4 separate regions of the Homo sapiens genome follow, and regions 1, 2 and 4 are each linked to region 3. The links are contacts of gene promoters, found by promoter capture Hi-C in blood cells and fetal thymus (Javierre and others, 2016). All regions are on one chromosome and are shown on one strand. The core of a region is centred on a gene start or on the middle of the fragment in contact, and the rest is flanking DNA. Distances in the headings are between cores, read along the strand shown. Region 1 overlaps ROR2 (receptor tyrosine kinase like orphan receptor 2). Region 2 overlaps ROR2 (receptor tyrosine kinase like orphan receptor 2). Region 3 holds the start of ROR2 (receptor tyrosine kinase like orphan receptor 2). Region 4 overlaps ROR2 (receptor tyrosine kinase like orphan receptor 2).

Evidence for each region. The method cuts DNA at HindIII sites, captures the fragments that hold promoters and counts their contacts. A CHiCAGO score of 5 or more calls a contact.
Region 1: a fragment that was not itself captured here is called in contact with the fragment with the promoter of ROR2 in region 3 in 5 of 17 cell types (megakaryocytes, M0 macrophages, erythroblasts and 2 more); the score reaches 6.7 in megakaryocytes.
Region 2: a fragment that was not itself captured here is called in contact with the fragment with the promoter of ROR2 in region 3 in 8 of 17 cell types (megakaryocytes, erythroblasts, fetal thymus and 5 more); the score reaches 24.9 in megakaryocytes.
Region 4: a fragment that was not itself captured here is called in contact with the fragment with the promoter of ROR2 in region 3 in 1 of 17 cell types (M1 macrophages); the score reaches 5.0 in M1 macrophages.

The regions. Positions count from the first base shown.
Region 1 is chr9:91,758,932-91,766,645 of GRCh38, forward strand. All of the region lies in intron 2 of ROR2 (receptor tyrosine kinase like orphan receptor 2), which reads right to left. Among named protein-coding and RNA genes, the nearest start is that of MIR3910-2, 130 kb to the left of the region's middle. The HindIII fragment of the contact is 762 bases long and covers 1,921-2,682 here.
Region 2 is chr9:91,776,532-91,783,214 of GRCh38, forward strand. All of the region lies in intron 1 of ROR2 (receptor tyrosine kinase like orphan receptor 2), which reads right to left. Among named protein-coding and RNA genes, the nearest start is that of MIR3910-2, 140 kb to the left of the region's middle. RefSeq lists an enhancer at 5,614-6,113. The HindIII fragment of the contact is 1,964 bases long and covers 380-2,343 here.
Region 3 is chr9:91,944,776-91,951,644 of GRCh38, forward strand. It overlaps ROR2 (receptor tyrosine kinase like orphan receptor 2), which reads right to left and starts at 5,453. Exons shown (of 9, transcript NM_004560.4): 1 at 5,092-5,453. The coding sequence starts at 5,188. RefSeq lists enhancers at 436-937, 4,244-4,745, 4,746-5,245 and silencers at 5,439-5,618, 5,732-6,026. The HindIII fragment of the contact is 6,243 bases long and covers 957-6,869 here.
Region 4 is chr9:91,741,431-91,748,763 of GRCh38, forward strand. All of the region lies in intron 4 of ROR2 (receptor tyrosine kinase like orphan receptor 2), which reads right to left. Among named protein-coding and RNA genes, the nearest start is that of MIR3910-2, 110 kb to the left of the region's middle. The HindIII fragment of the contact is 7,584 bases long and covers 1-5,787 here.

The DNA.
Region 1 (7,714 bases), core at 1,052-3,551, 190 kb before region 3:
AATGTTGGACAAGAAAGTTAATCATCAACATGAACTTACATCAGACAAAGCTAAAACAACACAGCAATCTGAAAATGACTTCAAAACAGATACATCCATGTTCTGAATCTTTTGGCTCATTTCTGGTTGGCCTTGATCCTTTCTTTTCAAGTGAAGTTGAAAGATGGCAGGCATCTGTTGTTACAGATTTAATCGGAAAATTATAGTATTTCTAGTGAACCCTAAGGGTAAGAAGTGTTGTAGGATCCTCCAGCATCTGTGGAGGTGGAGGTGATGGAGAGGTGGGGGAAGCCAGGCGGTGGATTTAAGATGAGGAGACGGTCTTCATTCACGGGACAGTGGAAACGCACCTGTCTGCAGAGTAGTCATTAATGAGCAGAGACCACTACTTATAATTATTATTAACATCATTAGGTTCTACCTGGATACTCTCCTAGCCAACCCTTTTCCATTCACTGAATTAAGTTATAGAAGGTACTTCTTATTGACAACATAAAGCTGGAAGGTCACTAAAATGCTGATGACAATTCTTTAAAAAGATAGGCTGAATCAGGCAGGGTAAAGTTCTGTATGTATGATCTTCATTAACTCAACCATACAGGCACAGCATGGGGAATCTGCATTCCCCATGCTCCCGTCTACTGGATCCCATGTCTTTGTTTCTCTGTTGAATGCAGTATCTAATCTGCTGTGACGATGTGAAGTGGTGGTTTTGATATAATCTGGGCTGCCCATCCCAGCATATCATTTCACTGTGTTCTGGCCAGACTAGCATTGAAAAGAATATTGCTAAATGGCCAGCAGCTATACCTGGGAAGGTGCTGAGGCAGTGGCATATAAAGGCCTGCCCAGGTGGGAAGGGACCAGGATAGAGTCTCACGGACAGCACCACGTTCCAGCCAGGCCTTGAGGCAGCCATCTTCACATTATATTGGAAGCTCAGTGGGACCAGTACTCAGATGGGGCCATCATTAGGTAACCTGATAATTTACAGCTGTCTCCCCAAGTAGGTGAGTAAAATTGAGCCTTCAGAAAGAAATCAGAAAGACAGATAATGGAGAATAACTAGATTATATCCACAGTATCAACGCTCCCAAATTTTTCTCTAACCTCCCCACACTTCTTCCCCACTGGACAGGGAGTCCCTTGCTCTCTCCAAAGCACAGCAAGCTGGTTCCTTGTTGTTCAGTTGGCCAAGGCCACTCCTCAGTGTTCTTTGCTGTCTCTCATGTATCACACCTGCTGAAATGTCCCCTCCATGGAAGGTGTTTTCTGGCTGCCCATCTAAAACAAGCTCTATTCACTTCTAACCTTGCCTTTCCCCTCCCCACTAAATCACTTGGCTTGTTGCTGTGGCAACATCACATTTGTTAAATTATGATGACTGAAGTACGTTTGGACATTAAGAAAAACAACTGTGGGCTAGGTGCGGTGGCTCACGCCTGTAATCCCAGCACTCTGGGAGGCCGAAGCGAGTGGATCATGAGGTCAGGAGATGGAGACAATCCTGGCTAACACAGTGAAACCCTGTCTCCACTAAAAATAAAAAAAAATTAGCCAGGCGAGGTGGCGGGCGCCTGTACTCCTTGCTACTCGGGAGGCTGAGGCAGGAGAATGGCGTGAACCCGGGAGGCGGAGCTTGCAGTGAGCCGAGATCGCGCCACTGCACTCCGGCCTGGGTGACAGAGCGAGACTCTGTCTCAAAAAAAAAAAAAAAGAAAAGAAAAACAACTGTTACTTTTTGAGGGCAATATTCTCAATTTCATTGCTACTTTTCTCTTCTAAATTTTAAAATCATCCCAGCAAGTTCCATTTTAAAAGTAGGACTTTAATGGATAATTTGCATAAAACTACCCACTTCATGATATTGAGAAAGCATGGTCTATGTATCTATTTCAGACCTTCTGAAGTATTCAGAAAAGCTTTGTAATTTTCTTAATATAGATCTTCACATATATTTTTAGGTAGATTTCTAGCTGTTCTCTAATTTTTCTTACTATTGTAAATACTTTTTCTATTATTTCTGTCTAAATGACTTTAGGTTTATAGGGAAACTATTAGATAGCAATCATCTACATAGTGTACTAATTTCCTGTGGCTGCTGTGACAAGTTACCACAAACAGGGGTGTAAAGCAACACATATCTTTCATCTTACAGTTATGGGGGTCAAAGTCCTCATATCCATGTGACACGGGCTGCCTTCCTTCTAGAGGCTCTGTGTGAGAACTGCTTTCCTCAAACCTTGCCAGGTTTCCAATGAAACCAACCCAACAGTCCCATAGACCAGTGGTCCCCAGTCTTTTTAGCACCAGGGACCAGTCTCATGGAAGATAATCTTTCCATGGCCTGAGGTAGGGGCCTTGGTTTGGGGATAATTCAAGAGCATTACATTTATTGTGCACTTTATTTCTATTTATTTATACAACTCACCATAATGTGTAGAATCAGTGGGAGCCCTGAGCTTGTTCTCCTGCAACTAGTAGTCCCGTCTGGGAGTGACAGGAGACAGTGACAGATAATCAGGCATTAGACTCTCATAAGCGCACACCCTAGATCCCTCAGATGCACAGTTCACAATAGGGTTTGAGCTCCTATGAGAAGCTAATGCCACTGTTGATCTGACAGGAGGTGGCGCTCAGGTGGTAATGTAATTGATAGGGAGTGGCTGTAAATACAGATGAAGCTTCACTTTCTCACCTACTGCTCACCTCCTGCTGTGTAGCCCAGTTCCTAACAGGCCACGCACCAGTACCAGTCCATGGCTGGGAGGTTGAGGACCACTGCCATAGACAGTTCTTTTGGATAAACATAGAAATTGACCCTTCCTCAGGAAAGGACCTCTCAAAAAAGTATCAAAGAATTGAAACTCACCAGATCATCACATCACATCCAGACAATAAGACACTAGGCCCCTCCATCATCAGGATGGCTTCCTTACCCCTTCCATGTTCCTGTTTTCCCACACATAGCTACCTTTCTTCCCTGCTATATAAAGCCCTCATTTTAATCAGACAGGGAGATGGATTTGAAGCTGAGCTCCCATCTCCTCAGCTGCATCACCGGATTAAAGCCTTCTTTCTTGGCAATAATTGTTGTCTCAGTGATTGGCTTTCCGTGTGGTGAGCAGCAGGACCTAGACCAAACCCCGGTGTTTCAGTAACATTAGGGACCCCCTCTTTCCTTGGCCAGTGATTCCTCATTGCATCACTCCACCCTCTGCTTCCATTGTCACATCTACTGCTGAATCCAGTCTTCCAGCCCCGGTTTCCTAAGGACCTCTGTGGTTACACTGGGCCTACCCGGATAAGAGAGAATGATCCTCTTTTCTCAAAATAATTAACTTAATCCCATTTGCAAGTTTTTAAAGATCTTGCCACTTTACTCAGCTATCTTAGTTATAACAGTTTCTGAGTTGATTGCCTTGGATTTTCCACATAGATACCATCTTCCTCAAATAACAATAACATAACCTTTTTGCTTTCAAAATTCATATCTCCCATATCTTTTTGCCTAATTGTTTTTTCAACATTCTTTTTTGATTTAAAAATGTTAAATGCTAAAATGCTGCAAACATACAGAAAAAACACAGCTATCAAACAATAACCATGAACAAAACGTATAAAGATTTGACATTAATTTTCCCATATTTCACTTTGAACACTTAAAAAAAATTCTAGAATGCAACCAAAACCTACTCTTGCTTATTTTTCTCCAGAGAACTTGTATGCATCATTCCAATGCATATTTATATTATTTTATGCTTTTAGAAATTTTCCCTGAAAGGTCATATTTGCTAGTTGATTTCACCCATCTATGTTGGTTGATGTGCTCCATTTATTTTAATTACTGTGTAATAGAATAGCCCATTATACAAACAAGCCACAATTTCCTTATCCATTTCCCAGTTGAAGGACTGTAAGCTATTTCCACATTATTGCTATTGTAACATTTAATGACCACCTATATAGATGTCTTGTCCTGTGCATATACAAGAGTCTCTCAAAAGTACATACATGACTGGATAAAGAAAATGTGGTACTTATACACCATGGAATACAATGCAGCCATAAAAAAAATCATATCCTTTGCGCAACATGGATGCAGCTGGAGGCCATTACCCTAAGCAAATTAACACAGGAACAAAACCCCAAATACCTCATGTTCTCACTTATAAGTGGGAATAAAACACTGAGTACACATGGACATAAAGAAGGGAACAACAGACACCAGGGCCTACGGGAGGACTGAAGGTAGGAGGAGGGTGAGGATTAAAAAACTACCTATTGGGTACTATGCTCATTACCTAGGTGACAAAGTAATCTGTACACCAAACCCCCACGGCACACAATTTACCCATGTCACAAACCTGTACATGTACCTCCGAACCTAAAATGAAAGTTGGAAGGGGAAAAAAGTATCCACTTGGATGTGGTGTCATAGAGTCTTGAAATCTTTCATTGATCTGAGTCTCAAAAGTGCTTGAAACAATTTGTACTTCACTAACAATATCTGAGTTAAAGTGCTTCCCTACAGCTGTGCCAGAATTTGGTGTTTGGGTGCTTTAAAATATTTGCCAATCTGATAGGTGCTGCGCTACAGTTTTAGTTCGCATCTTATGAATTCCTCGTGAGCTTCCACATCCTTTGGAATATTTCTCGTCATTGGGGCTCCCCTTGTGTAACTGCCTGTTCATCTCTCTATTCTGATGCTTTTTCCAACTTCTGTAGTTAATTCATTTTATATCTTTTTCCTTTTCTATGTATGCATTAAGTGTAAAATTTTCCTTCCACTCTTCTTTAGCCATCCAATTAATTAATCTTCACATCATTAGTCAGACCCAAATATTGTGTAATATATCTTATGACATTTTTCTTTTAGCTATGAGTTATTTAAAGTGTGCTTTAATTGCACTGTTGTCACAGAACATGGTCTGTGTGATCACAATTCTTTGAAGCCACTGAGATATGCTCCGCAGAGTCGGCTTCCTGAAGATGGTCCACATATGCGTAGTAAGAATGTGCTTATTCTACATTCATGGCAGAGTTTTAAGTGCCCATTTGATCAAGCTTGTTGATTTTGTTTTTCATATTTTTAATATGTTTATCTACTAGATTCAAAGACTTTGCATTTGTCAAATAGCTTTTAGTAATTCTGTCAAGTTGAGTTGATATATGGGAAATGATGGGGCTGGATGCATTCCCAACTTCAGTTTTATTACATCATTTGGTCCATACATCACTAAGCAACAATTCTGCCTAGAAAATCATTTTATCTGATATTATTATAGCCATCCTCAGGGAACCTTTGGTTAACATAGCCCTACTTTTATCTTTTTAATATCTTTATCATTTTTATGATTCTGTATTAGATATAACTCTTATAAGTGGCATATAATTTTACATTTTGAGTCTACATTTTTAACTGATGAGTTTTATTTTTAATATTTCCATTGCCTTTTATTTTTTCTTTCCTATCTTCTATTGGATTTTTAAATGCTCCATTTTTCCCCTCTGCTTATTTGAAAGTTATACATAAGTGGCTAGCTTAACTACTTTTTATAGGCTTACCTAATTTAGCAAAGTCCCCCAATTACAAAAGACTTTAAATGCTATGAGCTATAATCACTTACACACACACACACACACACACACACACCACACACATTGAACTGCTTCCTACTGCTTAGATACACTCTGATTTTAAGCCTCCAATTATTGTTATTTTTACTGTCAGAGTATTTTGAGATCTACCAACTTCTTTCCTCACCAACACATCCTGCATCTCACTCCTTCCTCTTAGGTTCAATTGAGCTCATCCTGAATAACATTCATTCTTTGGGTAAAGGACTAAGGCTGCAAACACTCTTAGTCTTGGTCTGAAAACATCCATGACTTTCACACGTGAATGATAGTTTCGTTGGGTATAGAATTTGAGGCAATACTGTCCTCTGGCTTCTATGGTGACTGTTGGAAGTCCTGCAGTTCTTGTTCCCTTTGCAAGTATTCTGAACTTTCCCCTTCTTAGGCTATTTTCAATATTTTTCCTTTGTCTTTGCCATTCCAAATTGTCTATCATTAATAGTAAATTTATTTTTATTTTAGCCTCCTCAGGTCTCAGTGCTCTTCCTCAAATCTGAAGATTTGTGCTTTCTGTCAATTCTATAAAACCTCTATCAGTATTTCATAAAATATTAAATATCCTTCTAGGTATATGCTGGTTTTCCTCATATGATAATTCCACTGTGCTCTCTCCCTATTTTTAATACTCCTTACCCTTTTTGTCTTTAGCTGTGTGCATCTACCCTGTAACATACCCATCAAGTTTCTCATTTCATGGACTATATCTTTCTTTTCTAGAAGGTCTGTTTGGTTCCTTTTCAAATCCACCACTGCTTTTTCTTCTATGTGGTTTCTGTTTCCTCCTTTCATCTTTAATCCTTCTGGCTTCATTGTTTACTAGCTTGCCACTCATCCTGGGCCTCGACAAGTGTGCTGTGTAATTTTTTTATTGTAAGGCTGGTTTTTCTGAGGGAATCCCTTGAGGACTGGGTTCCCTTGACAGGCAGTGCCAAGTTTTATCTTAACTTTTTGGCTTGGAATTTCCTATAGCATGCTGGTAATGTAAATCTGGCTTCCAGAGATGCCAGTCCCAACTGATTTCTCATGGGAGAGCCTTCTGTGTTTCCCATCTGGAGCCAGGGTGGAGGAAATCTCTCATCTGACCTCCAGGGGCTGACCCTGTGGCAATGTGCTCATCCCTCTTCTCCAGGACTGCAGCTCGCAGGTCTCCTAGCTTCACAGGTAAGCTTGTCAACAAAGCTTTGGTTCTGTAGAGCCCATGGGTTCCCTCGTGGCTTGGTGTGGAAACCCAAGGCTCTTGATGAAACTGGACCTAGCAGAATCGTTTCTATATTAGAGATGATATTTCATAGGCCTTATATCAGGGTGCAAAAAATGCACATTCCTTTATTTTCCTAAAACCAAGCTAGATTTTTCTCCTAGTCCCTCATTTCTCCTGATTAGAAGAAACTTAGTACATCCAATTCCAAGTGAAATCAGTAACTTTAGGTTTCTTATTTCATTTACTCTCCATCAGGATTTCCCTATCCCTGCATATTCTCAAGTGTAGCATTTATGTTCCCGAGCCTATTCTGACATTAAAGCCCTGCAGGATTTGCTGTGTCCACGTCTTGGTGCCCTCTCTGCTCTGTGGCCCACAGACACGTCCACATGTGTGCCACGGCCATGTGGTGACACCACTTTTCACTGTTGGTGAGCTCATGTTACAACTCCATGACGCCTTCAGAATTCGGCCCTTGGTCTCAGATAAACTCTTTTTGAGGACCTAGGAAAATTGGGCTGTTCTCCAAAGCTGCAAACGTAGTGGGCTACCTCAAGTGGCTTCTGCTGCGGCAGCCCAGGGCTGTCACTTATAATTCTGCTTCCTTTCCATTCCTGGCTCCTGGGCATTTCTCCACCTCCCTTGCACATTCATATAAGCATTTGCATCTTTTACTAGTATTTTATTGAGCACTCATATGTAATTTATGTGGGAGGGCTGCCAAATGAGTCTGGTCCACCATTTTCAACGTCATCGATTCTCTAGGGGCCAAACATGAAAGCGGGAAAGAAAGCTCTCTAGAGATTAAGCACAATATTTCTTTCTCCATTGGTGTTTAATTTATAGCCAGTCATTTAGCCTCTCTTGGCTTCA
Region 2 (6,683 bases), core at 112-2,611, 170 kb before region 3:
CATGCATTTTACTCTTCCTCAACAATAGGTAAACCACATGGGGACAGCTGGTGCTGCACCCCTGGGGGAGGACGAGTGGTCCCATCATGGAAACCCAGACAGAAGCACCTCCTGCTACATAACAGAGGCTGACATCAGCTATGCAAGGCAGTCCATGGACTTCTGCTGAAGTATTAAAGACTTCAGTTTGGATTTGAAATTTTACATCAGCACATTACACACACCATCACTCAGCACTGTTTAAATGTAGAGAGACCACATGAAATCAAACATACTTGCACTATATACACACATCGAAAAGAGACAAAAATTATTAACTGCTTAGAAATTGACAAATGGTCTGAAACACTCAAATAAATACATACCCCAAAGAAAAATAAGCTTCACTAGCCCAATTTCCCTGTGGAAAAGAGTCCTAGCTCTTCCCAAGTCAGCTTCTAATTCAGAAATGGAGGCATTTTCACGTGTGGAAATTTCACTTCCTCTGCCAGTCAAATGTGGTTAATAAACTCAGCATGTCCAATCACGAGATCTTTAGAACTGACACTTTAAGTTTCAACAAAACTAGGTTGTTATTGCTAATCTGAGAAACTAAGACACCACTTATATTTCGAAATTTTAAAGTGTTATCTTCCTATACTACATAGTTTGGGCTCACTCCAGATACTGCAGCCTTCTAAAGTCAATAAGCAAAATGTGACAGGAAGTATGTGAACTAGTAGAATGGGTACAAGTGAAAACAGGGCTCAGTGTTTTCAGCAGAACCCAATAGGGTTTCTCCTAACCCGTAAAAAGAGCTAAGAATACCACCTTTCCTCCAAAATAAACAAAACATGGAAATAATAACAACAAAACTGCCACACACACACACACACACCCCATCATCATCATCATCATCATCAAAATGTTATTATTAGTTATCTGGAATTATAGGTAATTTAAATTTCTTTTATTTCCATTTAAATGGCTCTACTGTGAACAAGTATCAATTTTTTAATGGTGTGTGAGACATAATTCACACACTATAAAATTCACCATTTTAAAGTGTGCAATTGAGTGGTTTTCAGTACATTCTCAAGGTTGTGCAACGATCACCACTATGAAATTCCAGAACATTTCATCATCTCCCCAAAAAACCTCATTCCCATTAGCAGTCATCCCCCCGCCAACTCTATCCTGTCTCCTTCAGCCCCTGGTAACCACGAATCTGCTGTCTCTATGGATTTACCTATTCTGGACATTTTCTATAAATGAAATCATATAATATGCAGTATTCTAAACAAGCATCAATTTTATAATTATACTTTTCAAAATGCATGCCCTGTAGTAGCAAAAAGAAAAAAAAAGAAGAAAGCATGCTGTACCACGGGATTAGTAAACAAGGCCATTAATTTGGCTCACTCAGACCACTTCCCAGACTCGGGGGGTCTGTCTCCACAAGGAGAAGGGGATGTGGAAAACATACATGAGGCCGCAGAGATGACTGAAGTATGAAAGGGAGGAACTACCCCAAAATGCCAGAGCTACTAGGATTGCTGCTCCCAAGGTGGGGCAATTTAGGAGCAGCCAGGCTGGCCTGGTAAGGAGACCTGCACATGCCCTCACTCCTGCTGCACACAAGCTGGGAGGAATGGCTGGTGACTCGCAGGATCAGGGAACACTTTCAACTTGGCCAGTTTAGGGGCCACCACAACGGATGTTGCAATGGGTACACATACTGAGCACGTGCTTCTGCACCTAATGGGCTATCATCGTTCCTGACCGAATGACTTTGTGACAACCTCACAACACCACAACTTGCCTTGGTGGTGACTGCCAACCCGATATGGCTGGTGAATGATCACGGTCGTGCGCCCTGCAACATCTCCTCGGTGCCTGTCCTGAGTCATTCTTTACATAAAGGCCTTTTCGGTTTTCACCTGGTGCAGGCACCCTTGCACCCCAGCTAGATGATGAGCTCACCAGGCAAGGTCCCTGTCCTCGTTAGTTGCCTGGATTTAGCTGGAGGAGCAAGAGAAGAGGCCACGTGGCCTTCTGGACCATCAGAAAAGAGATTCTGAGAGGAGATTCATCTGTCCTGACTCTTCAGGACTTCAATATATTTTTCTCCTGAATATGAGGACACTACTCTAGCCAAACCCACACGTCCTCCGTTTGGGTAAAATGCTCTTAAGTGTGCCCTACATGACCATCAAGAATGTCATCCGTATGACAGGCACAGTGCCCTGACTTTTCTCCGCTGGACCTGGGTCATTTTCACTGTAAAAACATCACAGAGTGGCGAGGTGAAGCCAGAGGGAAACTCAACCCTTGGGTAGATGAGTAGGGGAGTAGTGATTTATAAGCTTCTTTTAGTTTTTTGATACTTTTTAAAGAGAGGAAAACATTTAATATGAAACAAAAATTTAAGTGTGGCTGGTATAATGAAATGACACATTCAATATCTAGTTTTATCCATGTCAAAAACACACATGACACTCTAGAAGCAAAGACTAAATATAATGTGGTATCCTGGTCAGGACCCTGGAACAGAAAAGGGATATTAGGTAAAAACTAAGGGAAAATGAATAGTGTGAACGTTAGTCAAGAATAATGCACCCGTATTATGGGGCAAATGTACCATGCCAAGGTAAGGTGTTAACAATAGGGGAAACTGGGTGTGGGGTGTGTGGGGGCTCTATGTACTGTCATCACAACTTTTCTATAAATCTAAAACTAAAGTAAAAAGCTTACTGAAGAACAATTACACATTTCCATCACCTTGTTCAATCCCTTAAAACCAAGGCTCACAAGTAGAACTGCATAAAACATTCTACCTCCAAACACTTATACTTTTCTTTTTTTTTTTTTTTTTTCGAGACAGAGTTTCGCTCTTGTTGCCCAGGCTGGAGTGCAGTGGTGGGATCTCAGCTCACTGCAACCTCTGCCTCCCGGGTCCAAGCGATTCTCCTGCCTCCGCCTCCCAAGTAGCTAGGACTGCAGGTGCCCACCACCACGCCCGGCTAATTTTTGTATTTTTAGTAGAGGTAGTGTTTCACCATGTTGGCCAGGCTGGTCTCGAACTCCTGACCTTAAATGATCCACCCACCTCAGCCTCCCAAAGTGCTAGGATTACAGGCATGAGCCACCGTGCCACCGTGCCTGGCCAATACTTTACATTCTTAATGATGCAATCCCTGGTAAATGGCCTCAAAGCCAAGTATGCACCCTAACCCTATGAACAGAATCTGACACAGATTCACTGGATTTAATATGTTATTCAATGATTTATACAGCATGCTGGCAAATATTTAGAAATTAAAACATTTTGGAAAATGTTGGATTTTTCAGCTGAGTCCTACAGGAATTGTCATTGGCATGGAGACATCAGCTCTTAAGCAGGAATTTGTAGCATATTCTTGGAAGCACTTTATGAATGTCTTGTATATTCCAGGCTGAACCAATTGGTGTCTACAGAATGGCCAAAGTGAAAGGGTTCACTGTTGATAGGGATGATGCCCGGTTGCTGTTAAGAGAGTCACATCAGGCCTGCAATAGCTGGAGGTGCAGATTCTGAAGAATTAGAAATTATATAACCAGGCCAGGCACAGTGGCTCACGCCTGTAATCCCATCACTTTGGGAGGCCAAGGCGGGTGGATCACGAGACCATCCTGGCTAACACAGTGAAACCCCGTCTCTACTAAAAATACAAAAAATTAGCCGGGCATGGTGGCAGGAGCCTGTAGTCCCAGCTACTCGGGAGGCTGAGGCAGGAGAATGGCGTGAAGCTGGGAGGCGGAGCTTGCAGTGAGCCGAGATCACGCCACACTACTCCAGCCTAGGCGACAGAGCAAGACTCCGTCTAAAAAAAAAATGAAAGAAAGAAAGAAAGAAATTATATAACCATCAAACAAAACTCTTCTGAAAACCTTCTTTCAACACAGACCTCTGATGTGACATCTTGATTTATGGCATCAACAAGATAAGATTAATTGGGCTGGCGTGGTGGCTCATGCCTGTAATCCCAGCACTTTGGGAGGTCGAGGCCTCGGGTGGATCACCTGAGGTCAGGAGTTTGAGACCAGCCTGGCCAACGTGGTGAAATCCCATCTGTACTAAAAATACAAAAATTAGCCAGGCGTGGTGGCAGGTGCCTGTAATCCCAGCTACTTGGGAGGCTGAGGCAGGAGAATCACTTGAATCTGGGAGGTGGAGGTTGCAGTGAGACAAGATGGTGCCATTGCACTCCAGCCTGGGTGACAGAGCAAGACTCCATCTCAAAAAAAAGATAAATTTATATCTGCAAAGTAGCAAGCACGTCTGTTCTGATTCCAAGGCTCTACCTCTAGTATCACAATCATTCTCTCATTAACAGCAGTCACACCATTAAGCAAGCATTTATTAATGAAGTTTCACCTATGCCCTTGGATTTGAGTCCATGGTGCTATTCTGGTTTTGATTTGCGTTTCTTTTAAACATGCTTTGTTATTCAGACTGTTCATCCATTCATCTCTTCACCTGTTGATCTGAATCGGTATGCTTACTGTGATGCAATTAGATGCAGTCTTCAGGATGTTCAGACAACTTCAAAGCAGCCTCTTTTTAATTAGTAAGGGTATTTTATTCACCAGAGCTTGGCATTCTTGGATTTGGTTGTCCTCATGTGAAGGTATAATTTGCAGGATGTGTTTAAGAACAGAAGTCACGGCAGGGAAAAAGCACAGCCTGAGAAAGTGACGGTGCTGCAAACCAGACACCCCCTGAATGAATGGCAAGGACAGATTTCACAATGAGCTACGCTGCGAGCAAGCTCTGTGCACCCACTGTCCCACTTGCACGTGCAAATGTCACTCATGTGTTCCACAACAACTACTCAGCTCGGCAACACGTCAGATCGAAAACACCCATGATGCTAGAAAGGCAACAGTTAAGGAAGAAAAGTTAAAAATTGGGAAGGAGCAGCGTATAAAGTCCCGAAAGGGTAAGGCCATTATTAGTCTGGGACCTGGGTCAGGAGAAGTATGTCAATAGCAAAGAGCCTTGAGACTGTTTCGGGGAATGCTCTTACTAAGACACTGCACCCTGTGTTTCAATTGCAGCTAGAAAACCAAACAGCATTCCAGGTGGGCTGCCAGTACCTAATTGGTAGTGGTCTTAACAGTCTGTAATTTTTTATTTTCATTATTTCTAACTTTGAGTTGAGTAAATACTAGCCTCTGTTCTTATATTCCTTCAAGGGCTGGCTTAACTCTACTTTGGAAATAGGGAGTTAAAACTCATCAACTTGAAAATGGAGTAACCGTTTCACCAATTTGAACTTTGCTGTGATTCCACTTCTAAAGCAAACGTATTAAACCTCCAAGTGAGTCAATGTACCAGCCCAACTCCCTTCAATATTGCCTTCATAAAGCTCTTTCTACTTTCTGTCTCTGACAGCCCCCAGAGCCCCCAACAAAAGCCCACTGTCAGGGGCCAAAGGAATATTTAGGTGAAGGGGGAGAGAGGCCACTCAGGCAGCTGAATTGAGGCCTTTCACAGACCTTCTCTCTTCCCAGCATCCACAGCCCTGGCAGCGGTGAGCCTGGCCGGGCTGGGAGGCCAAATGCCGCACCTCCACCCCCACCAGATACAGTGAGAAGGTGAGGTCCCCTCCCTGTGACAGGGAGCTGAGGCTTGCTTTCTCTTAAGTGGCTGCTTGTTTCTGCACCAAAACCAGCAGAAAAGGAGCAAACAGAAATGCTAAGTAAAGGCTCCAGGTTTATTGTATCTTTTCATCTAGTTTCAAGGAAGTAGCTCTTGAATATTAGTTACTCCCATGCATACAAAAGGTTACTTTGTCACCTTGAATCTCTGGAAAGTTTTTAATTAAAGGGAGGGATGTAAAAAAGAAAAAAAAAACACCCTGATTAGAAAAGAAACTGCATTATCCTTTGGCAGCAAAAGCAGATGTCTTCCATTTGCTTAAGGCTTTTCAGGGGTGTCCAATCTTTTGGCTTCCCTGGGCCACACTGGAAGAAGAATAATTGTCTTGGGCCACACGTAAAATATACTAACACTAACGATAGCTGATAGCAAAAAAAAAAAAAAAAAAAAAACCCTCATAATGTTTTAAGAAAGAAGTTGTGTTGGGCTGCATTCAAAGCCGTCCTGGGCTGCATGTGCCACGGGTTAGACAAGCTTGCTTTAAGTTAAGGCCAGGTCTGGAGCAGGCTCCACCTCCATCAACCAGGAATCCAGGTCCCAGGCCATGTAGCCAGAGGCTAACCCAGAGGGGGTTCAAAAGCAGAAGATTCTCTGGTAGCCAGAATTTGCTTCAGAGTCTTGGAATCAAACAGGGGTAAATGTCTGCTATGATCACAGGAAGTAGCAGTGATTCTTTTTAAGGCAGCTTCTGTGTTGGTTTCCTAAGGCAGCCACAACAAAGCCGCACAGATGGGGCAGCCTAAACAATGGAAACGCCTTGTCTCAGTTCAGGAGGCTGGAAGGCCAGGATCAAGGTGTCAGTAGGGCAGGTTCCTTCTGCGGCTGGGAGAGAGGATCTGCTGCAGGTCACTCCTTGCTGGCAGACCATGGCTTCTCCTTCCATCTCCTCATTGTCCCTCCATGCACACCGTCTTTCCGTCCAAATCTCTCTTCCTACAGGTCACCAGTCCCATAGGATGAGAGCCCTGATGACCTCCTTTTACCTTAATTACCTGTGTAA
Region 3 (6,869 bases), core at 4,203-6,702:
GGCCAGTGAGGTGGCTCATGCCTACGATCCCAGGACTGGGGTGGGGGTGGGGAATCCCTTCAGCCCAGGAGTTCAAGACCAGCCTGGGCAACACAAGTGGACCTCCATCTCTACGAAAAAAAATCAAAGAATTAGCCAGGCACGGTAGCGCGTGCCTGTGGTTCCAGCTACTTCAGAGGCTAAGATGGGAGGATAACTTGAGCCCAGGAGGTAGAGGCTTAGCCCAGGAGGTTAAGGCCAGAGGTAGTGAGCCGTGTTTGCACCACTGCACTCCAGCCTGGGTGACAGAGCAAGACCTTAACTCAAAAAAAAAAAAAAAAGTTAATACTACTCAGATCCATCTACCAATTCAATGCAACCTCTACTAAAATCCCAGTGACATTTTTGCATAGCAATTTGTGGCTACTGACACCTGAAATGAAGCCAGTGAAGGGGAGGAAGTGAATCTTTAATTTCTTTTAATTTTAATTAATTTTAACTTATATAGCTGTGTGTGCCTGGTGGCTACTATATTCCACAGCACAAGCCTACAATGAGGAGTTCAGGCCTAAACATTTCCTTATTTTAACTGCCCATTGTGTTAACTATCCCTCCAGGAGGGTGTGGAAACCATTAGGCTAGGAGTATTTGGGATTTAGGGGAACCCTCCCCCACTCCAGGAGGACTTGAAGCAGCCGCCACATTCTCCTCTGATAACATCTAGAAAGTGACAGAGTGCTTACTGAAGCTCATTCCAGCGACAATTAAAGACATACACACCACTTCCCACTAGAACTTAAGGATTTCTAGAGGACCAAGCTACTTAGTCGAATTAAGCTACATTTTTCTGTAATTATTTCCTTCCCTTTAGCTTTTGAGTTTTTTGCTTTTTTCAGAGATAGGACTTAAAAAGAAAACACCCACAGAAATCCCAAAAACAGTGCCAACCACACCAATAAAATTCCCTATTTTGTAAAAGCTTTATGAAAATTCCCAACACTGTTCAACAATTCTTTGGCCACTCTACGAATATGATTTTAAACAGATTACACCCCAGACATATTTTATGACAACTGCACACGCAAGCAAAGCTGTCCCGCCCTCGTTTCCAACTTGGCAAGCTCTTCAACAAAACCAAATAAATACATGCTAGAAAAAGGCGGCTGCTACAAAACCCCGGCCAGTTGCAGCTATAATTAATGGGCTGGAGCGCCTCTTGTTGCTTGGATTTTTACTTTCAAAACTCAAGAAGCCCACACTACCCACTGAAAGCCTCAACAGTGTTATGGTGGTGTTGTGGGGCAAAGCAGAACCTAAGAGCCCAAAGGGTCACTGAGAAGTAATGTTTTCAAAGCCAGTCCCTTCAACCCAACAGTCCCTTCATGAAATTGCTATTGGCCATGCAGCTGGGGTGCAACCAATAAAAATCCAGACCTAGCTAGCAATGCTTCCACTGCAAAACAAAGCCCCCTGGTTTCTTTACTTTGAAACCTTACATGCTTGGTATTCTCCACTTGGTGGTCACCACGGGGCTCCCAAAAAGGAAATATCCTAATGACAATGTATGGAGTCACAACCAATGGGCAAGAGCAAGGAAGAGCCCGCCCCGAGGAGCCCCCAAGGAGGCACCTCAAGGTAAACCCAAAATTGGGCTGCCCAGCCCTTCACCACGTGGAAACCACAAGACGCTGATGGGGTGTGGAAGAGGAGGAGGAGGGAGTCCTTCACAGTGTCCCCTCCAGGTTCCCAGGGAATGAACCAGATAAACACCAAAAGGAAAGGCCTGTCATCAAGGAACCATTTTAGAAGATGGTTATAAACCCTGGGAAGGAGTAACAGTTTGTAGCGTTAACTTTCTTTTCCCTGACTACAATGTGGAATTATATAATTAGAACTCTCCAAGGGAAAGGATTACAAAGAGTACACAAATTTCCAGCACTACAACAGACTAGCCAGGTCCTGCAGATTAGGGAGCTCAAGTCCTTCACATCCAGTTCCCATTTCACTAATAACTTTTCCCATCCTGGCCTCTCAGGGAATGCATTTTAAAGGAGTGCCAGTCCACCAGCTGAAACCTTTCTAAAGGGGATTAATCTTCCCTACCTGTCAGATGAGCTGTTCGTACCCCTGTATTTCTATTCCACTGATTTCAGAAGAGCTTCCAAAGAAAAGAGCAGTGTAAAATTCAGACTCTGCCAGACTTAATCTCTTGGAGGTTAAATCCAGGCTAACTGTTTAAGGGGCAACAAGTGATTCACTGCAAACCACACTTAAGAGAGAGACATACAAACACCAATTACAGCAGCACTTTGAATAAACAATAAAAAAAAGGTTTCACAATAAAAATAAAAATGTTGTTTAACATTGCCTTAAAAATCTGCAGAGCAGTCACCAAAAACTACCCCTGGAAAACGCACATTTTAAAAAACCCATGTTGCTTTTTTACATATAAAATATAAAGCAGACTTGTCAGTTTTCCATGATTTGCTTTACTAATTAAAAGTTCAGCTTGGCTTTCCAGAGCCCTCTCAGTTACACTGAGTGTCACATAGGGTCCACGGCGATCAGATTTTCAGGGTGACATGCTTTATGAAGTGGACATGAGAGTTAAGCAGGATCTCACAATTATACTGAAAAATTTCAAATGTGTAGCTCTGTGCTTGGTACACAGCCGTAATAAGAAAAATATGTTGCCTTACTATATACATAAAAACTTTTCTTTTTCCACAAAGTCTTCTTATTCAAGATGTTTCCATTTATTTTCTTCTAGATGGATTTCTTCTAGACGGATCACTATCATTATTTATTACCACCATCACTCCAGGGATCTGGGCCAAAAGTAAACACTACACTGCCAAAAATGGGGGCTGGGGGGACCCTAATGCTCCATCGTTCCCCACCTACCCTACCTAGGATTGGTATATAGTCCCAAATCAGTATTTGTCATCAGAGGAAACAGAGTCTTGCTATTAAAATGTGGAATAAGAACTTACAAATCCTTTTAGAAAAACCCCTAAATAGTTTTACATAATAAATTATTTCGTGGATAAAACACACTCAAATAACAGGGACTCCTCTTTTCACAGCAGAAAAGATCCCAAACACTCAAATCTCCTGTAATCATATAATTTTATTATTATTTTGAATAAAAATTATCATACTCTTTGGATTTTGTTAACCTAGCCATACAGAACGAAGAGAATTATATCCTATGCCCTCTCCTATAAAGATTATGAGTATTTCACTAGAAAAAGAACAGGGTTCAAAAATTAAAGAAAACGACTCCAATTGCTTTGTTCATATAAGACATTTGTACATTCACTGGAAACTATGAGTGTTTAAATTCCTTCACCCAAAACTCAAGGAACTTTCCTGTTACAACCACCTTGGCTTAAGCAATGGACCCATCATGCTTTCCTCATCACCCATCTAAAAACCCCCACCACAGCACCGCCCCTCAAAGGCTGCGCTCAACCCTCATGGTCTGCAAGGCAGAGTTTTTGTAGGACAATTAACCGCAGGGTGAACAGCAAAAGCCGCCCAACAGCACGTCCAGCAACGTGTTTAAGCCGCCTCCCCGCCACCCCTCTCCCCCAGCAAAGGGATCTCCTGGGAGATTCTTGGGGGAGGGGTTGCAGAAATCGACAGAGGTCTTGAGTGATGGATACCAACTTAGAATGTGGTCTACTTATTTTATTGTGCACTCTGAGCGGTTTATGCTTTAATGCACAGTGAGATAAACGCAAGCTCCCTTCCCAAATCAAGTAATTAGGAATGTCTGACGTAATCAACATCTGCTTAAACTAAAACCCCCCCCCAGGAAAGACTGTGCAGCCTTTCTGACTCGCGTACCTTGGGCCGGCTAGGGCGGCAGGCCAGGATACCTGGAGCGCGCAGCTCCCAGCAGGACGCAGGAAAAGCAGAGCGTCTCCCAGCCTGCGACTGTCCCGATTCTCACCTTCCTGCAGGAGTGCAGGGATGGGGGATACTGAAGCCCATTTACTAGTAAGAAGTGTCTCACACATTCCGGGGGCTTCAGGCGAACCCCATAGGTCTCTGGCGCTCCTGGGCCTGAAGGCCCCGCCCGCCCTCCTCCACCCCCGCAGGGTGCCGAGAATCCGGCCCGAGGCGCGCGGGCGGGAGGTGCTCCCGGAGTCTGCACCGCCAGAGCTAACGCCGCCTCCTCCAGGCAACCTAGGCAGGTCCCAAGCTGCACTTCCGAACCTCCCCGCCGTTCCTCTGCGCCCCGGATCCAAGCAGCCGAAACCGCGCAGGGACTCGGGGGAAGTGGGGCCCCGGGAGGAAACCCACCTAGGAGCCGGGCCCCGCCCCTCCCGCCGCCAGCCTCCTACAGGTCCCGGGGGTCCCCCCGGCGCGGCCAGAAGGCGGCCGCGCCCCAGCCGCTCAGGGACCCGCGATCCCAGTCACAAACCATTTCAATCCAGATCACACACCACTTCGGCCACCCCAGAGCGGTGGGGGAGAGGAGGTTTCAGGGACCAACAAAAGGGATGCCAAAGAGCCCGTTTCCATCAAGCGGCCCGCGGGCTGGGAAAGTCAGGACCCGGGAGCCGCCGGCGCCCCCACCCCCGCCGCAAGAGCCGCTTCTCCGGGGCCACGTCCACCCCAGGATTCTGCCAGGCATCAGGCCGCCCTGGGGGTGGGGGGACGCTCCGAGACAGACGGGGGACACTCGGGGCCGTGTGCCCTTGAAGGAGGAAGACCTCGGGGAGGAAGCCCGGGTCCTGGGACCCTCGGGGCACATCTGCGGACTCGGGTCCCGGGCCCAGGGCGGGTACTCACATTCACACTCGCACTCCCACTCGCGACCCTCGGGAAGCGCCACCGAGAGGCTCCCAGCCGCCGCCGCCCGCCCCCAGACTCTGGAAACACTTAGGCGTCCCCAGAGCGCGGCTTATTGTAACCAGCCCGAGGGGGTCCGGGGTGCGGGCCGGGAGCGGCGTCGGGCGAGATGCGAATGGCCCTGCCTGGCGCCCCTCGTTCAGGAGCATGGGCGCCGGCGCAGCGGCCGGGAGCATAGTGGCGGCGGAAGGGCTGGCCAAGCGAGCCGTGAGCTACCGTCTGCGCACAAGCCGGAACGCCAGATCCTACCTGAAGTCCGGGACACTGAGAGCAGAAGCGCGGCGGCCGCCCAGACGGCCGGGATGCACAGCAGCGGCCGCCGCGGGAGCGCCGAGCCCCGGGCCATGCCGCAGGCAGTGGGGGCCGGGAAGCCCTCAGAGCTTCGGGCCGGGGCGCGGGGTCGGGCGCCACCACCCCTTTCTACGATGCGTCCGCTCCTCCTTCTCCCTGGCGCTTCGCAAACGGGTCCACTTCGAGGACCTCGTCGTCGTCCTCTTCTCCGGCCCGGATGCGCCGCTCGGCTCCGGCCACGGCAAGGGCTGGCTGGGGAGGTTCCTTGGCGCGGGCTGGGGCGTCCCGCCGGCCGCCAGGACGAGCGCGGGGGGCGGACCGCGGGCGAGCGCGCAGGAGGCAGGGTCCCCGCTCGCCCGCCCCGATGGGCAGAGCGAGGCTTGCGCCGGCGCCCCCTGCCGGGGGAACGCGCGGGCGGCGGGCGGGACCCAAGGAGCTGGGGCTGCAGCTGGGGCCCCGGACCTGCCTCCTGCGCCCGCCCTCGGGCCTGCGCCTCGGAACGCTTGAACACAAAGGTGGCGCCTTGGGGGCGTCAGCCGGAGTTCGGCGGGTCTGCCCACGCAGGAGAGGCGCCCAGAGCGGGTGCCCCCGACTTTCGGGGGCGACACACCCGGGGATCTAGGTCACAAATCAGTAACTCCAGGCTGCACTGCGCACCGGGACAAATCTGAGAGCCACCCAGCCCCAGACACCAGCGGTGAGGCAGGAAGAGGAGAAGCGAAAGTTGCAAAAGGAAATGTTCAGGAAAACAAACAGGCCGCCTTGGCACCGGCGCCCTCCCAGGTCGGTGGGGACAAGCGCGTCCCCCGAAATGCTCAAAACTGCCAGGGGTCGAGCTGCGTGGAGGGAGCCCTCGGGAGCGCGATGCTATCCGAAGCCACCGCGGCTTTTGGTTTACTGTTAAAAGCAAATTGTATAATTTTACCCATTAAAGGCAGAACACTATTTGTTCTCTGCAGAGGCCCAGAATGTGCAGAATTTGCTTCACTTATTAGAGACATTTTGAACGGAATTCAAATAGCATGTTTTCTTGCTTATTCTTGGTTTTGCTCAGCACATGCAAATGTCTTTGTTTTTCCTCTTAGAGGAAGGAATTGGATTCTCCAGCATCTCAGTTGCTTGTTCCATGAGATTGATCTTTTAACTGATTATCCAGCAGTTTGTTTGGTGTTTTTGCTGGAGTACCAAGCTCTGTTAATTGGAGGGCATTAGGGAGAGCCCTGGCCTTGGGTGCCAGACGTGAGGCCTCAGACGTGGCCAGAAATAAAAACTCTCTTGCTATGGTCTGCGGACAAAATGACTAAGCCAGCTCTAGCTTGTTACCTCTGTTAAAAGTATTTAGGCGTCCGGCTATCTCTACCCAATTTGTGTAGGGAAATATCTCACGCAGTTCTCATTCCCAGGAGCTGCTGTAAATCCAGTAGGAGAATGGGAGAAGATCCTAGCCCCTCCTCAACTGGATGGCAAAATTATTACCAAACTTCTTAGACGGGCTCAGGCTGTTCCTCTGCCCAGGCTGGTGCGGGTCTGAACGGGGGGGCTGCTCTCCCCAGTGGTTAGAGGACTGCCAGGGGTTTATCTTTGGGGTTTTCCTCCCTTTAGCTTCCCTTAGAATCCTTAAGGATGCTTTTAGAGTAATGTTTTAAGAGTAGGTGCTGAAGCACTTAGTTCCACACCCCTCTCTTCTGGATCTAGGGAAAACCCAACAGGGGCTGCAGAGAAGGGTCTTGAACCTG
Region 4 (7,333 bases), core at 746-3,245, 210 kb before region 3:
GCAGGTGCTCCTCCACCAAGACTGGCAAGATGGTGGGGATCCACAGCCTTCCCCTAGATGACACATGCTGAGAATAAAAATTCATGGGTATTAATAATGAAGGAGGTTTAAAGGAAACTAAGGCTTTTTTAAGGTTGAAAAGGAATCCATGTCAAAATTCAAATGTAGCTACATATTGCATAGGAAGTTAACATTTTCCCCTAATTGTTTTGTTACAAAGTAGTAACCCATTCTCATAATTGTTTATCTTATTATGAGAGAGGCTGACTGTCTAAATGGGCTGCCTGCCTAGGTGAAGCAGAGGAAGCTCAATCTGTGACTCACCAGGAGACAGAGCAGACCAGCCACATTCACAAAGCAAAAACTCCCTAAGCATTGGGTGCTCTGACAGTAAGCTAATATGCAGCTGTATCAAAACTCAATACTCTTTACTTTGAATGCAAAACCTAGCATACAAACCATGATGTCCACTATACAATAAAATTACCAGACATGCAAAGAAACAGGAAAATATAACCCGTGGTCAAGAGAAACAAACACAAAGATAACCTAGATGTAAGAATCAGCAGAGCAGGTTGGATTAGGCCATTTTCATACCACTGATAAAAGACATACCTGAGACTGTGAGCAAAAAGGAGTTTAATTGGACTTACAGTTCCACATGGCTGTGGAGGCCTCAGAATCATGGTGGGAGGCACAAGGCACTTCTTACATTGGCAGCGGCAAGAGAAAAATGAGGAAGAAGCAAAAGTGGAAACCCCTGATAAACCCATCAGACCTCGTGAGACTTACTGTGACAAGAACAGCACAGGAAAGACCGACCCCCATGATTCAATTACCTCCCCCTGGGTCCCTCCCGCTACATGTGGGTGATTCAATTACCTCCCCCTGGATCCCTCCTGCAACATGTGGGAATTCTGGGAGATACAATTCAAGTTGAGATTTGGGTGGGGACACAGCCAAACCGTATCACAGGGCTTTAAAGTAATAGATGTGGAAAACACAGAAGAAGGTGTAGTGAAGATGTGGGGTATTTCAGGAGGGATGGAAACTATAAAAGAACTAAACAGGAAGCCTAGAACTGAAACATAAGAGTCTACAATAAAAGATTCATTGGATGGTGCAGCCATGCACCACATAACGATGTTTTTGGTTAACAGCAGACCACATACACAATGGTGGCCCCCTAAGATTACAATGGAGCTGAAAAATCCTCATCGCCTAGTGACATCGGAGCTGTCATAACACTGTAGTGCAATTACTCAATTTTTAATAAACTCACTGTAGCCTAAATGTATAGCGTTTACACAGTCTACAGTAGTGTACAGTAATGTGTAATGTCCTGGGCCTTCACATTCACTCGCGACTTACTCACTGACTCACCAGCAACAGCTTCCAGTCCTGCAAGCTCCATTCATGGTAAGTGCCCTATGTAAGTGTACCATTTCTTAATTTTTATACCATATTTTTACTGTACCTTTGCTGTGTTTAGATATACAAATACCATTACGTTACTGTTGCCTACAGTATTCAGTATAGTCATATGCTGTACAAGTCTGTAGCCTAGGAGCAACAGGCTGTACCATATAGCCTAGGTGTGCAGTAGGGGAAATCATCTAGGTTTGTGTGAGTACACTCTATGATGTCCCTACAAGGAGAAAATCACTAATGCATTTCTCACAACGTATCTCCACTGTTACATGATGCATGACTGTATAACAGAGTGGATACAGCAGAAGAAAAAAATCTATGAACTTGAAGACAGATCAACAGGAGATTTCCAAACTGAAGCAAAGAGACAAAAAGACTGACAACTCTGATACAAATATCTAACAAGGACATCAGAAAAATATGATAAGGGCCGGGTGCAGTGGCTCACATCTGTAATCCCAGCATTTTGGGAGGCCGAGGCAGGTGAATCACTTGAGGTCAGGAGTTCAAGACCAGCCTGGCCAACATTGTGAAACGCCATCTCTACTAAAAATACAAAATTAGCCAGGCGTGGTGATGCGTGCCTGTAATCCCAGTTACTCAGAAGGCTGAGGCAGGACAATCGCTTGAACCTGGAAGGTGGAAGTTGCCATGAGCCAAGATCATGCCATTGCACTACAGCCTGGGTGACAGAGTAGGACTCCATCTCAAAAAAAAAGAAAAAAGAAAAGAAAAATACGATAAGGACATCACAAGAGTATCTAACAAGGACACCACAAGAGCGTTACAGACCAAAATGCCTACCATCAAAAGGGGCAACGTCCTCCTCAAAACATTAGCAAACTGAATCCAGCAAAATAAACACAGACAATACTAAAGAGGCCCATGGACCAACTGGGGTTAATTTAATGCCACTGCACTCTATATTTGAAAATGGTTAAAATACCTGGGAATAAACCTAACAAAAGATGTCCAAGGCCTCCACACTTGAAACTTCAAAAATCACAATATTGAAATGAAAACATGTTCACAAAAATATGTGAAAACAAATGTTCATGGCTTTATTTATAATTGCCCCCAAATGCTCATCAATAGGTGAATAAACATATTGTAGTACATTCATACAACAGAATACTTCTCAATAAACAGGAATGAAGTGCTGTATAGTTAACCAGAATAAATCTTTCAGACATTACATTTAATGAAAGAGGCCAGACATAAGAGTCTCCAAACAAAATGTCAACAGCACAAGGCAGGAATTTTTAGTTTTTATCTGTTGCATTCATTGTTGTATCCTCAATGTCTTGAATGGGACCTGGCGCACAGTTGACCCTCCACAGAAATTTGTTAACTTTTTTTTTTTTTTTTTTTTTTTTGAGAGACAGAGTATTGCTCTGTCGCTCGCCCAGGCTGGAGTGCAGTATCACGATCTTGGCTCACTGCCACCTCCACCTCCTGGAGGTTGATTCTTCTGCCCAGCTTCCCAAGTAGCTGGGACTACAGGCAGTCACCACCACACCCAGCTAATTTTTGTATTTTTTAGTAGAGATAGAGTTTCATCATATGTTGGCCAGGCTGGTCTCAAACTCCGGACCTCAGGTGATAAGCCCACCTCAGCCTCCCAAAGTGCTGGGATTACACGCGTGAGCCACCACGCCCAGCTGAAGCTGAAATGTGTTAACTGAATGAATGATTTCCTTGAGAATTAGACGCTGTATATTACTCTCTGCTTCCAAAATGAAATACTCTGAATATCTGACTGTACTGATAACAGATGTGGCAAAAACATCCACTTGATCCAACTAAACATGCCCAACACCAATGTTTGATATCATAAAAATCCAAGTCAGCAGAACCTTGGAAATACTGGCTTTTGCAATGGCCACCTCTAAGGCCAGGATCACATAAGGTGGCCAGAGGCAGAGAAGACAATGGCTCTGAGGGTGCCAGTTCCCTGGGAAGTAAATTTTATTTTCCCCTACGCTGTTCAGGTGGCTAGTCCCTCCCAGGTAAGCCAAACACTTTCCCCCTTGGAAGGTTGCTGTATCCTTGAAAAACCCTGAAGTCAGTTGGTAAAAGGCTCTCACTGTGCATAATATGGTGTAAGAGCTAGCCCCTGGAATCCACGGGCTCGGGTGGAAACAAAACAACCTAAAGCGGCATTCCATGTGTGAGTGCACATCAAGTGTGCACATTTTCATTATTGTTGAAATGCAAATATCCTGTGTCACCATATGGTCTCATTTATTATTTATTAATTATATTATATATATATATTTTTGAGACGAAGTCTCGCTCTTTTTGCCCAGGGTAGAATGCAGTGGCGCGATCTCGGCTCACTGCAACCTCCACCTCCTGGGTTCAAGCAATTCTCCTGCCTCAGTCTCCCAAGTAGCTGGGATCACAGGCATCTGCCACCATACCGGACTAATTTTGTATTTTTAGTAGAGACGGGGTTTCTCCATGTTGGTCAGGCTGGTCTCAAACTCCCGACCTCAGATGATCCACCCACCTTGGCTTCCCAAAGTGCTAGGATTACAGGCATGAGCCACCATGCCCAGCCTATTTTTTTTTTTTTTTTTTTTTGAGATGGAGTTTTGCTCGTTGCCTAGGCTGGAGTGCAATGGCGCGCTCTCAGCTCACTGCAACCTCCACCTCCCTGGTTCAAGCAGTTCTGCCTCAGACTCCCAAGCAGCTGGGATTACAGGTGTGTGCCACCACACCTGGCTAATTTTTCTATTTTTAGTAGGGATGGGGTTTCACCATGTTGGCCAGACTGGTATTGAACTCCTGACCTCAGGTGATCCGCCCACCTCGGCCTCCCAAAGTGTTGGGATTACAGGCATTGAGCCACCGCGCCCAGCCTATAGTCTGCATTTAGAAATGTGTATCTATTCTCGAATTATCTTACTGATGATTGTCTATTTAGTCACCTACTGCTTGTATCACATAACCTTAAATTCAGTTTCTAGCTTTTATTCCGGTTCTGTACTATGGGATTTAAGGAAAGTTGTATTTTCTAGAAAACAGAACTTACCATAAAAAGATGTCACTGAGAAAAAAATTAGACTGGCTTCCCTCCTTCAAGTTCTGTCTGAATTAAGTTGAACTTGATTAGGTTGGTGGTCTGAGGGCTTTAATATCAAATGCCAAATGTCAGCCTTTTGCCTGAGTTTGTCAGCAATAAGGTGGCTTGGTTTTTTTGTTTGTTTATTTATTTATTTATTTTTTAAAACATGGAGTCTCGCTCTGTTGGCCAGGCTGGAGTGCAGTGGTGTGATCTCGGCTCACTGCAACCTCCACCTCCCAGGTTCAAGCAATTCTCAGGCATCAGCCTCCCTAGTACCTGGGATTACAGGCACGCACCACCACGCCTGGCTAATGTTTGTATTTTTAGTAGAAAGAGGGTTTCACCAAGTTGGCCCGGCTGGTTTCCATCTCCTGACTTCAAGTGATCAGCCCGCCCTGGCCTCCCAAAGTGCTGGGATTACAGGCCTGAGCCACCATGCCTGGCCTGGCCTGGTTTCTGCTCACGTCATTTCTAATTACCAGCTTCTTACTTGGCACTTTCAATTTTATAGTGCTGTTTTCCTGTAATTAGGATAAACTCTGAACTAGACTTATGAAAACTCCCCGAAAATAGCAATGGAAGGAGTTTGGGCTGGCAGCTGGCCGAATTCCGTGTAGACACACTTGGCGAGCGGTGCCTTCGAATCATCCACTTGGCGAGAGGTGCCTTCAAATCATCCACCTGGAGAGGCTCATTATGTGGGTGAAACATATGGGGCTGGAGCTGGGGAGATAAGTCAGACTTGAAAACAAGGAGTCCCGGGTCACAAACATCTGGATGGAGAACGGCTGAAGTCTTGGAATTAACTGATTCTTGTTCCCATAAGAAAATAACAGGGCCATGGCCCCAGGAAGGTGATTTCCCAGAGGCCAATAATTAACATAACTTTTCATTATTCAAAAGAATAACACACTTTCCTTGAGCAGGTGTGTGTGTGTGTGTGTGTGTGTGTGTGTGTAGCACAATATGCATGCACACACCTGTGGGCCATGGGGTGGGTCCAGGACAGCAACACACGCCAGCCAAGGGCTCTGGTGCTCTGACTTCGGGAAGGCAGCACGCCCCACCCCACCACTTCCCTCCCACTAGAAGCAGGACCTGTGTATGGGCCTATACTCATCTAAATGTGCCACGTTTCAGCAGAGCAGGAAAAACAAAACCCACATATGAAATATGAGACAGGCAGCCTAGCATTAATCTCCAAGCACGACCAACACTGCCGCTGAGTCAGCTTGGATAACCCGGGCCTCGGAAGGTCCATCTGTGGAGGCACCGCCTTTTCTTCAAGCTTTGTTCTCCATATACACACCCTCCTCACCCCCAATTAAACAGGGATAGAAGGGAAAGCAATGTCTTATGGTGGTAAATCCTTTAACCTTCAAGGATATCCACCTCCCTCAACATGCACAAGCTTTAGTCCCACACATCACAGCGCTCACGCGTGTGGACAGGCCAGGGCAGCACCCAAGGAAGAGCCACGAGTGGAAGGCCTGAGTTAGCAACCATCAGAGTTCATGGCTAAGAATCCATGGTACCATGTCTTGCTGTCACGCTGCACACAGGGCTAAGCCAAGGCGATACTACTATTCGCTGTTCAACTCTCCATTTATACAGACAGGACACACCTCTTGACCAACAATGAAAGAATGCGAACTGTTGTGCATTTTCTATAGAAGTGGCCCAAAAGAGGTGTCACTGATTGATAAACTGGTCGAGTAAAAGAATCAGAGAAACTGTGGATTATTGTTTTAAGCTCACTGATTCTCTCCTATCTTTGGTTAAGGTCCAGAGATATCGTAAGCATATCATCACGGTGGGGCGGGGGAGGAGTCAGTCTACTGAAACAGAATCAGGGTCACTGGGGAAAAGAAACTCATGGCTGCAGAAAGATGACAGCCAGTGGGCTGCTACTACACACTACAAAGTCAAAGGATGTCCTCGTGTGGAAAAGCCCTCTGCCAGAAAGCACAGTGGTGGTTACCAGAGGCTGGGACTGTGGAACTGGGGAGATGTTGGTCAAAGGATACAAAATTTCAGTTAGAAGGAGGACTAAGGTCAAGAGATCGGTTTTACAACATGACTATAGTGAATAACAATGTATTGGCAGATCACCTGGGGTCAGGAGTTCGAGATCAGCCTGGCCAATATGATGAAACCCTGTCTCTACTAAAAAACCAACCAACAAACAAAAAAATTAGCCAGGCATGGTGGTGCACGCCTGTAATCCCAGCTCCTCGGGAGACTGAGGCAGAAGAATTGCTTGAACCTGGGAGGCGGAGGTTTCAGTGAGCCAAGACTGTGCACTGCTGCACTCCAGCCTGGGCGAAAAAGCGAGACGCTGTCTCAAAAAAAAAAAAATGCCAAAGAGAATAGACTTTAAGTGTTTTCACTACAAGAAAATGATGAGTTGTCAAGTGAGACATATGTCCATTAACTTGATTTAGCCATTTCACAATGTACACATATATCAAAACATCGTGTTGTACACTGGAATATAGATAATTTTTATTGAATACATAAAGGTGGGAATAGAAAAAAGTATTTGTAGAAAACTTTAATTCCCCCATGGAAAAAAAATCCAAAAGATACTTCAGGAAAAAATAATGAAAAAGTTCAACAAAGTTGTGGGTGTAAGATTTGTATTTAAAATTTAATGCCTTTCTCAACCACCACTAGCACACAATTTAAAAATAAAATTTGGGAGAGAAAGATTATCAGTATCATTAGCAGAATCAATGAACCACCTGGAAACATACTTAAGAAAGATATGCCGGGTCGTCATGGAGAAAATTATAAAACTATATTGCAAAGGGCACAGAGGCCGGGCCTGGT